Regions from separate parts of the Homo sapiens genome. Here region 1 is linked to region 2. Evidence: promoter capture Hi-C in 16 types of primary human blood cells and fetal thymus (Javierre and others, 2016). All regions are on one chromosome and are shown on one strand. The core of a region is centred on a gene start or on the middle of the fragment in contact, and the rest is flanking DNA. Distances in the headings are between cores, read along the strand shown.

Region 1 (4,247 bases), core at 926-3,425, 150 kb after region 2:
TGAAACCACCCACCGAGCCTATTGGCTTTGATTTGGAAATTGAGAAAAGAATCCAGGAGCGAGAATCAAAGAAGAAAACAGAGGATGAACACTTTGAATTTCATTCCAGACCTTGCCCTACTAAGATTTTGGAAGATGTTGTGGTAAGGTTGAGGCTATGTGTGCTGGCAGAAGTGTACTGCTCATGACCAGATATCCACCCATTCACACAAAAGTTTGGGTAGATATTATGAGCAGGGCATCATATTAGGAACTGCAGGTGATAAAGAGACTTATCGGAAGTGGATTTTGCTTTTAGTTAACTCAAAGTCTGGTATGGGAGACAATATATGTGTGAATAATAGAAAATGGACAGAAGTGTTCTGAGAGAGATGACAGTTAAAATAGGAATTCAGAGGAGAAAATGGTTTCTTCCAGATAGAAAGTTCAGGGTGTGCTTTGTAGAGAGGCACATTTGACCTGAGCCTTGACGATGTACTGTAGTAATAGTTATTGTGTTGCTATTGTTGTCATAATAGCTGACAATTTTACTGTGTGCCAGGACTGCTCTAAGCCCTTTTCATATATTAGCCCATTAGTTTTGACAACAACCCCTTTAGGTGGGTTATTTTATCACCTGTTTCAGATGAGGTAACCGAGGCACACAGAGGTTATGTAGTATTCCTAGAGCACTCAGCTAGTACATGGTGGAGCAAGTAAGAGTTCAGACACTCTAGCTACAGAGTCTGTGATCCTAATACCTCATTATATGCCTCTCCATTACATGATAGAATTTTGACTTGCAGAAATGCAAATGGACTGGATTGGCAGAACATTCCAGGCAGTAGGAATTACATGATAAAAAGCCTGACGGTGGGAAACAAGAAGCTTCTACTGGGAGCTGTTAGTGGGTCAGTTAAGCTGGAGAAAAGTTTATCAAGAGCCACTGGAAACTGTTTCAGAGAAGTGAGTTGTAGTTTGATAATAGGCTCACAACCACAAGTTTAGAGAAAATGTGCAATCAGGAAGCAAGGCTACAGTCAGAGAATAAGCAATGGAGTTAAGCACCTGCATAAATGCGAAAGCGGCTTTTAGTTACATTTCAGTGCAGATGAGGACCTCACCCGCCGCCACTGGTTTGGATTGCCTGGATTGATGCAGGTCCGGGATAACTCTAGAAGCACTCTGTTTTCCTATCTTCTTTCTTTTTGCTTGCTTTAGAGTCACCATGCTTTTAGGGGAAACTGCACCAATGTATTACCTTTGACTGAGTACCTAGTTTTGTTTATTGTATTTTCTTAGCACTAAATCAGAAGCAACTTGAAGTTATATTTTCCAGGCTTTACAAAAATCATGATTATGCTTAGAAATGGTTCTCCTCCCTGATACCTACTTTTGATTGAGAGCTTTTTGCGTGACTTCTGTTCACGATGCTTTTTTTTCCCTGCCATGATGCATATGTACTATATGCCAAGCTCTGTTACAATAAACTGTTAAGAAATCTTCCCCCACCCAAGTGATTAATCTCCAAGGGCTGTGCCTTCTTTGTCTTTACCCATTGAGGAAACAGTGTTGTGAATACAACAAGGGAAAAGTAGGTTATATGCAAACCTCAGAGTTGTAGAGCCAGAAGGGCTCAACGTTTAGTTTTACATACAAGATAATGGAGCCCCAGATAAGAGAAATTATTTCTTCAGGGTTTCTATAACACTCTTTTGGCACCTTGCTTTTGGTTTTTTGTTTTGTTTTTTTTTTTTGAGTTGGAGTTTAGCTCTTGTTGCCCAGGCTGGAGTGCAATGGCGTGATCTCGGCTCATGGCAACCTCCGCCTCCCGGGTTTAAGCGATTCTCCCACCTTAGCCTCCCGAGTAGTTGGGATTACAGGCGCATGCCACCACGCCTGGCTAATTTTCGTATTTATAGTAGAGACGGGGTTTCGCCTTGTTAGCCCGGCTGGTCTCGAACTCCTGACCTCAGGTGATCCACCCGCCTTGGCCTCCCAGAGTGCTGGGATTACAGGCGTGAGCCACCGTGCCTGGCTGGCACCTTGCTTTTAATAACATATTTTCCTCCAAGCTTTTCCCCCTACCTAAGTTTTTGTTTTTATTTATGTACCACTCTCTCAATTTGTCCTATATCCTTGTACCTTACATACCAATATTATTATTTTAAAAATCAACTCACTTTGTAACCTAACGTAAATTTAAAGGGAACTTTTAAATAAATATGTAAATGGAAAACCAGTACCTTTTGCCACAAATAACACAGCAATAATAGCTAATACTTATATAATGCTTATTACATGCCAGGTCTTTATTCTAAGCTTTTTACATTTATATAATAATGCACTTAATTCTCACAACAACCCTATGAGGTAAGCACTGTAGGTACTTAATCCATTTTACAGTTAGGAAACATAGAGGTTAAATAACTTGCCCAAAATCACAAACTAGTGAGCGGCAGAGCTAGCATACGAATCTTAGGTGATATGATTCCAGGGTCCATGCTGTTATATAAAAATAGAGGTTACCTTTTAAAATAGAAGGTTCTTAGGAAGTATGTGCTTATTTAAAAAAAAAAAAAACAACAGTCTACACCTCACCTAAGATCCTTTCTCATAGCATCAGTCACACCTGAACTACTGTTTTTTTTTTTTTTTGAGACAATCTCACTCTGTTGCCCAGGCTAGAGTGCAGAAATGTAGTGGTGTAATCTCAGCTCACTGCAACCTCTGCTTCCCAGGTTCAACCAATTCTCATGCCTCAGCCTCCTGAGTAGCTGGGAATACAGGCACACACCACCATGCCCAGCTAAGTTTTGTATTTTTAGTAATGACTGGGTTTCGCCATGTTGCCCAGGCTGGTCTTGAGCTCGTGGTCTCAAGCAATCCACCTGCCTTGGCCTCCCAAAGTGCTAGGATAGTAGGCGTGAGCCACTGCACCCAGCTGAACTACATTTTTGAAAACACTGATTAGGAAATTGGTTTGTCAGTTGTGTGTACTCTAGAAATGCTAGGGTGAAGTAGTAAGTAGGGAAGGGTGACCAGAGTTCATTAGGAGTTAGTTGAGATCTTAGAGTAGTTGGGTACCAGGTTATACCTGTGAAAATTCTGTGTAAACAGATCTGCAAAGCACTAGGTAAGGTGTGACCGAATTGATACGATTTGCGGAATGGAAGTGTTTGCCAAATCCAGCTGGTTCTCAGAATCCTCTGGGGCTCTTATTACATAAACAGATTTGTTGGGTACATCACAGAGGGAGCCCAGATAAAGCACTGAGTATGGTGCCTGACACGCAGTAAGCAGGGGTATTATTAATAGTAATTGTCATTTTATTGAGTGCTTACATTGTCCTGAGTACTTTATGTAGATTGTCTTATTTATGTCTGATTACACTTCTAAGAGGTGGAGTCTATACTTATCCCTATTTTTCAGACAAGGGAATAAACACTGAGAGGTATCTAGTATGCAGAACCAGAATCTGAGCCCATCATCTCCTTAAACACTGTATTATTGTACCCTACAATGCTTACTGTTATCATATTTATTTTGGCAAATGAGGTTTCTGAGTTTGACACTGGCTGTTTGCAGGTTTCCCTACTAAAATTTCCAGTGATTTGACTTCAACTCTTGGTTTCTAGAGAAGCATAGCATAGGAAGAGATGTTAGATGTGTTTTCTTCTACCCGCTTCACTTTTCAGAAAGGGAGGTTTTGAAAGGGGTGCAAACCAAAAAGTATGAGACAGGTCTCAATCAATTTAGAAGTTTATTTTGCTAAGGTTAAGGATGCATGCCTGGGAGACAGGTCTGTACCTTTCTCCAAAGATGATTTTGAGGGCTTCATATTTTAAGGGGAAAGGGTGGATAGTGGGGAAAGGGGAAGAGATTTTGAAAAGGTATGGGTAGGTAAGAGGCAAATGGTTGCATTCTTTGTTCACATGTGAGAGGGGGTAGAGGAATAGTTACTTATGCATTCATCTAGTTCAGTGAATCTGCATTTTTACATAAGATAATTAGGGCAGAGGAAGCAATCAGATACGCATTTCTCAGGTGAGCCAAGGGATGACTTTGAGTTCTGTCCTTTGTCCTGTACCTGTGAAGATAAGCTATCAATTTATATTGTCAGGGTGAAATTCAACAGAACTGTTTTAGGGTGAAGAACTTGGGGCCCCCAAGGAATTTTCAAGTGGGCAAATTGTGAGGGAGGTATGTACCTTTTTCATCTTTGAATGGGAGGCAGGTTTGCATGTTGAAGTTCCTAGCTTGACTTT
Region 2 (4,482 bases), core at 117-2,616:
TCTGCTCGCCTCCGCCTCCCAGAGTGCTGGGATTGCAGGCATGAGCCACCACGCCCAGTTTTATAAGTAATTCTTGAATAAATGTGCCTGAGCCTTGTCTATTTTTTTTTTTTTTTTTTTTGAGATGGAGTCTCGCTCTGTCACTAGGCTCGAGTGCAGTGGCATGATCTTGGCTCACCGCAACCTCTGCCTTGCGGGTTCAAGCCATTCTCCTGCCTCAGCCTCCTGAGTAGCTGGGACCACAGGCGCCTGCCACCATGCCTGGCTAATTTTGTTTGCATTTTTAGTAGAGACGGGGTTTCGCTGTGTTAGCCAGGATGGTCTCCATCTCCTGACCTCATGATCTGCCCCCCTTGGCCTCCCAAAGTGCTGGGAATTTTTTTTTTCTTTTTCTTTTTCTTTTTTTCTGAGACAGAGTCTTGTTCTGTTGCCCAGGCTGGAGTGCAGTGGCCCGATCTCGGCTCACTGCAACAGCCGCTTCCCAGGTTCAAGTGATTCTCCTGCCTCAGCCCTCTGTGAAGCTGGGACTATAGGTGCGCGCCACCACGCCCTGCTAACTTTTTTTTTTTTTTTTTTTTTTTTTGAGATGGAGTCTAGCTCTGCTGCCCAGGCTAGAGTGCAGTAGCCGGATCTCGACTCACCGCAACCTCCGCCTCCCGGGTTCAAGCGATTCTCCTGCCTCAGCCTCCTGAGTAGCTGGGATTACAGGTGCGTGCCACCACGCCCAGCTAATTTTTGTATTCTTAGTAAAGATGGGGTTTCACCATGTTGGCTAAGCTGTCTCAAACTCCTGACCTCGTGATTTGCCTGCCTTGGCCTCCCAAAGCGCTGAGATTACAGGCATGAGCCACCGCGCCCGCCCAATTTTTCTATTTTTAATAGAGAAGGTGTTTCGCCATGCTGGGCAGGCTGGTCTCAAACTCCTGACCTCAGGTGATCCTCCCGCCTCGGCCTCCCAAAGTGCTAGGATTACAGGCGTGAGCCACTGCTGGCCTAAAAGATGCTTCTGGAGTAGGAGGCATTGGGCCTGGCTGGAAGGTTTGCGTCTGCAAAGGCCTGAAGAGAACATCCCAGGTGGGAGAAACAGCAAGGAGGGGAGGTGTGGAGGAGGCAGGGAGACCCTGTTCTTGGGACTACTGTCTGCAGAGGGTCTCCAGAGGCAGGACCCCGGTAGGGACACTGATGCAGGAGGCGCTCTGCAGTGCCTCCCCCCAATCTGTGGGCCGGGGTGCCCCCAGGGACGCAGGCTGTGCGCTCCCACGCCCTGCCGAAGCAGGACGTTCCCACGCTGGGGCGGCCCCGAGAAAGGCTGTGGGGCGGGCCGGGGGCGGGCGCCCGCACTCAGGTCCCTCCGCAGCGGGTTCTCAGTTGCTCGCTGGGCAGACCCAGGTCGCGCTCCCACTGCCGAGCCCGCGAGGTGAGTGAGTTGGGGGAGGACCCCGCCACCCAAGCCCGCGCGGGTCAGGGGCGCGGCTCGGTCTCCTGCCTTCGCCGCTGGGTCACGCCCCAGTGGTCCCTGTCTTAGAGGGTTGGGGGGCTTCTTGTAGGTTAGAGTTGAAGACTCCTGGGGAGTCTGCATATGTGTGCCATCTCTTTCCCCAAATATAGATTACATCCTCCCTCTCTTGATATGTGGAGCTCTCCCACCCACTAATCATAATCACTGGCCGGAGCCCCTCTTTTCCAGAAGTGTGGGCCGCCCCCTCCCACTTATCACCTGTAGTGTGCCCCCTCCCTCACTCTATTTGTTGGGTGCCCCTCTCTCTCCCTAGATGTGGGACTCCCCTTCTTTTCCCCAGATGTGTGTCTCCCTCCCTCTGACCCAGTTAAGTCCCCATCCTCTAAAGCCCCTCCCCACCACCATGGATGCCAAACCCTGAGTCTTCCCTGGGGGTGGGAGACTGGGCTCAGCCAGACTGGCTAAGCCCAGTCCCCACCCCAACCAGATCCAGCAGAGCAGGCCTGTGTGCACGTAGGCAGCCAATTAGGGGGGAAGGGGTGGGGGCCAGACCGTCTGTCTGTTCTGCCGGTGCAGGGGCCTCTGGCCCCTGCAGGGAAGAGAGACTCAAGAACTGCTCCCTCTCCACCTGGACCCCACCCAGCTTCCTCTGGGGAGCAAACAAGTGAGCGGGGTTCTCCAATCTGGCCAGACTGAGCTGGGGCTGGCACCAGAACCCAAGCCCTCAGCCTCAAACTCTTCAGACCCTGGCCCAAGACTTAGGCCTCCTCCCACTTCTCAGATGGTGAATTGAGGTCCCAAAAAGGGGCTTCAAAGGTCTAGGACCCCCATTGGCCCCCCGCTGGGGATATCAGACAAAATTAGAAGGGTCAAGGGCATGAGGGTGACCTTGAAACACTGGGACACCCCTACCACTACCATACCAGTGGAAAAGGATTTTTCCATCTGGCCCTGCGGTTTGGGGGCAGAGGGTGATGTGGGGGCAGAACTCATCTATACCTTCACGCCCCCAGATGCTCCCCAGAGCTGCCTGGAGCTTGGTGCTGAGGAAAGGTGGAGGTGGAAGACGAGGGATGCACAGCTCAGAAGGCACCAGTGAGACCTGGACTCCTTCCTCCCTGCCTAACTCCAGAGATAGGGGCAGGGGTCCCCTCTGCAGGCTGCCCCCTTTGCCCTTCCATGCCACCCTGGGCCTGTTCCTACCACACTTCCCATGTTCCCATGATCCCACTCCTTGGTCCAAGGTCAAGTTTCTCCAGGAAATGGAGTGCGCGGGGTGAGCAGACAGTGGTCATCTCCATTCCAAGCTTCCTTAGGAGCCAGCCCCCAAGCCTCAGGCCCCTAGACCTTTTGTTCTGAGGTGGAGGATGCTGACAGAACCTTGGACCCTGATTCCTCCTTTCCAGACCCTAGTTTCAATGCTAGTAAGAAGAAAGAGACCTAAAGTAGGAGAGACTTCAGCCAGATAGCAGAAGGGCCTTGCTGACCCATGGAGAATAACAAAGATAACATTTATTGAGCCCTTACTAGTACCCCAAGCTATTATAAACCTCCTTTTTTTTTTTTTTTGAGATAGAGTCTTGCTCTGTCGCTCAGGCTAGAGTGTTCAGTGGCGCAATGTCGGCTCACTGCAACCTCCGCCTCCTGGGTTCAAACAATTCTCCTGACTCAGCCTCCCGAGTAGCTGGGATTATAGGTGCCCACCACTGCGCCCGGCTAATTTTTGTATTTTTAGTAGAGGAGAGGTTTTACTGTCTTGGCCAGGCTGGTCTCGAACTCCTGACCTCGTGATCCACCCGCCTCAGCCTCCCAAAATGCTAGGATTACAGGCATGAGCCACCAAGCCCGGCCACCTTCTTTATTAATATAGTTAGAGATAGGGTGTCCCAAGGGCAGCCTGGACTCAGCTCCCTCCATTGTGTCTGCAGCCCGTGGTGGGGGGAAGATGTCCCCCTACACCAACTGCTATGCCCAGCGCTACTACCCCATGCCAGAAGAGCCCTTCTGCACAGAACTCAACGCTGAGGAGCAGGCCCTGAAGGAGAAGGAGAAGGGAAGCTGGACCCAGCTGACCCACGCCGAAAAGGTGGCCTGTAAGTGTCAGGGTGGGGCTGGCTGGAGAGAGTGGGTTGGGGGCTGACTTTGGAAAGAATGGCCTGTCAGGGATCAGAGGGCAGAGAGAGGCCCCCAAGACAGCCAGAAACCTCCAAACACCTGAGGGGTGAAGTTCATGCCTTTGTTCGTTTCTTTATTCACTCACCTGTTTGTGCATAGCCTGATGCTAGGCAATGCTGGGGACATGAGGTGAATCACCTGGATAGTTCCTGCCCCCATGGTGCCCCCGGTCCCGTGGGGAAAACCAATACAGACTCCAATAATTGTAATACAGAACATGTGGCTAGGGTGAGGTGTGTTCAAGGACTGTGAGATGAAATCTTGGTGGACCTCCCAGAGGAGGGCACATTCCAGCTGGCCTTTAAGGGTGAAGAGGAGGGCACTGCCAGGGAGTGGGAACTGCATGGGGAAGGGTGTCAGAGCAGGAGACTGTGGAGGGCCCTGGAATTGAGTGATGTGGGGGAGATGGGACAGAGAGAGGCAGGTGAGGCGGTTGGGGAGGAGCCCTCTGACCCTGGGAGGCTGGAGGGATGTGTGGTCCCTTGTCATGTCCACCAGAGCATCCCTGAGCTGACCCTTTGAAATTTGGAGCACCTTATTTTCATTCCATGAATGGGAACACTCAGCCTGACCTCCAAGATTTCAAGGGATTCCTAGTGGGGAAAGGTTCATGCTTCTCACATTCATTCATTCAGTCAACATCTTATTTGGCACCTACTACAATACCATGCACTGGGAATGCAGCTGTGAGCCAGCCAGGCTCCGTTCCTGCCTGTGAGCTTGCATTTCCAGCCCTCTCTCAGCACCTTTACCCCTTCTCTCTCTCTCTCTTTCTACACACACACACACACACACACACACACACACACACACACATCTTGGTTTTTTCTTCATCCATTTCAGAAATT

Evidence for each region. Contacts are between HindIII fragments. The CHiCAGO score rates a contact against its expected background, and 5 or more counts as called.
Region 1: a contact is called between a fragment that was not itself captured here and the fragment with the promoter of COX4I2 in region 2, in 3 of 17 cell types (erythroblasts, M1 macrophages and megakaryocytes). The highest score is 7.4, in erythroblasts.

What each region holds. Positions count from the first base shown.
Region 1 is chr20:31,783,779-31,788,025 of GRCh38, forward strand. TPX2 (TPX2 microtubule nucleation factor) reads left to right here. Exons shown (of 18, transcript NM_012112.5): 12 at 1-143. Among named protein-coding and RNA genes, the nearest start is that of MYLK2, 33 kb to the right of the region's middle. RefSeq lists an enhancer at 1,842-2,341. The HindIII fragment of the contact is 247 bases long and covers 2,053-2,299 here.
Region 2 is chr20:31,636,546-31,641,027 of GRCh38, forward strand. COX4I2 (cytochrome c oxidase subunit 4I2) reads left to right here and starts at 1,367. Exons shown (of 5, transcript NM_032609.3): 1 at 1,367-1,417; 2 at 2,473-2,554; 3 at 3,388-3,552. The coding sequence starts at 2,473. RefSeq lists a silencer at 1,288-1,427. The HindIII fragment of the contact is 5,408 bases long and covers 1-2,764 here.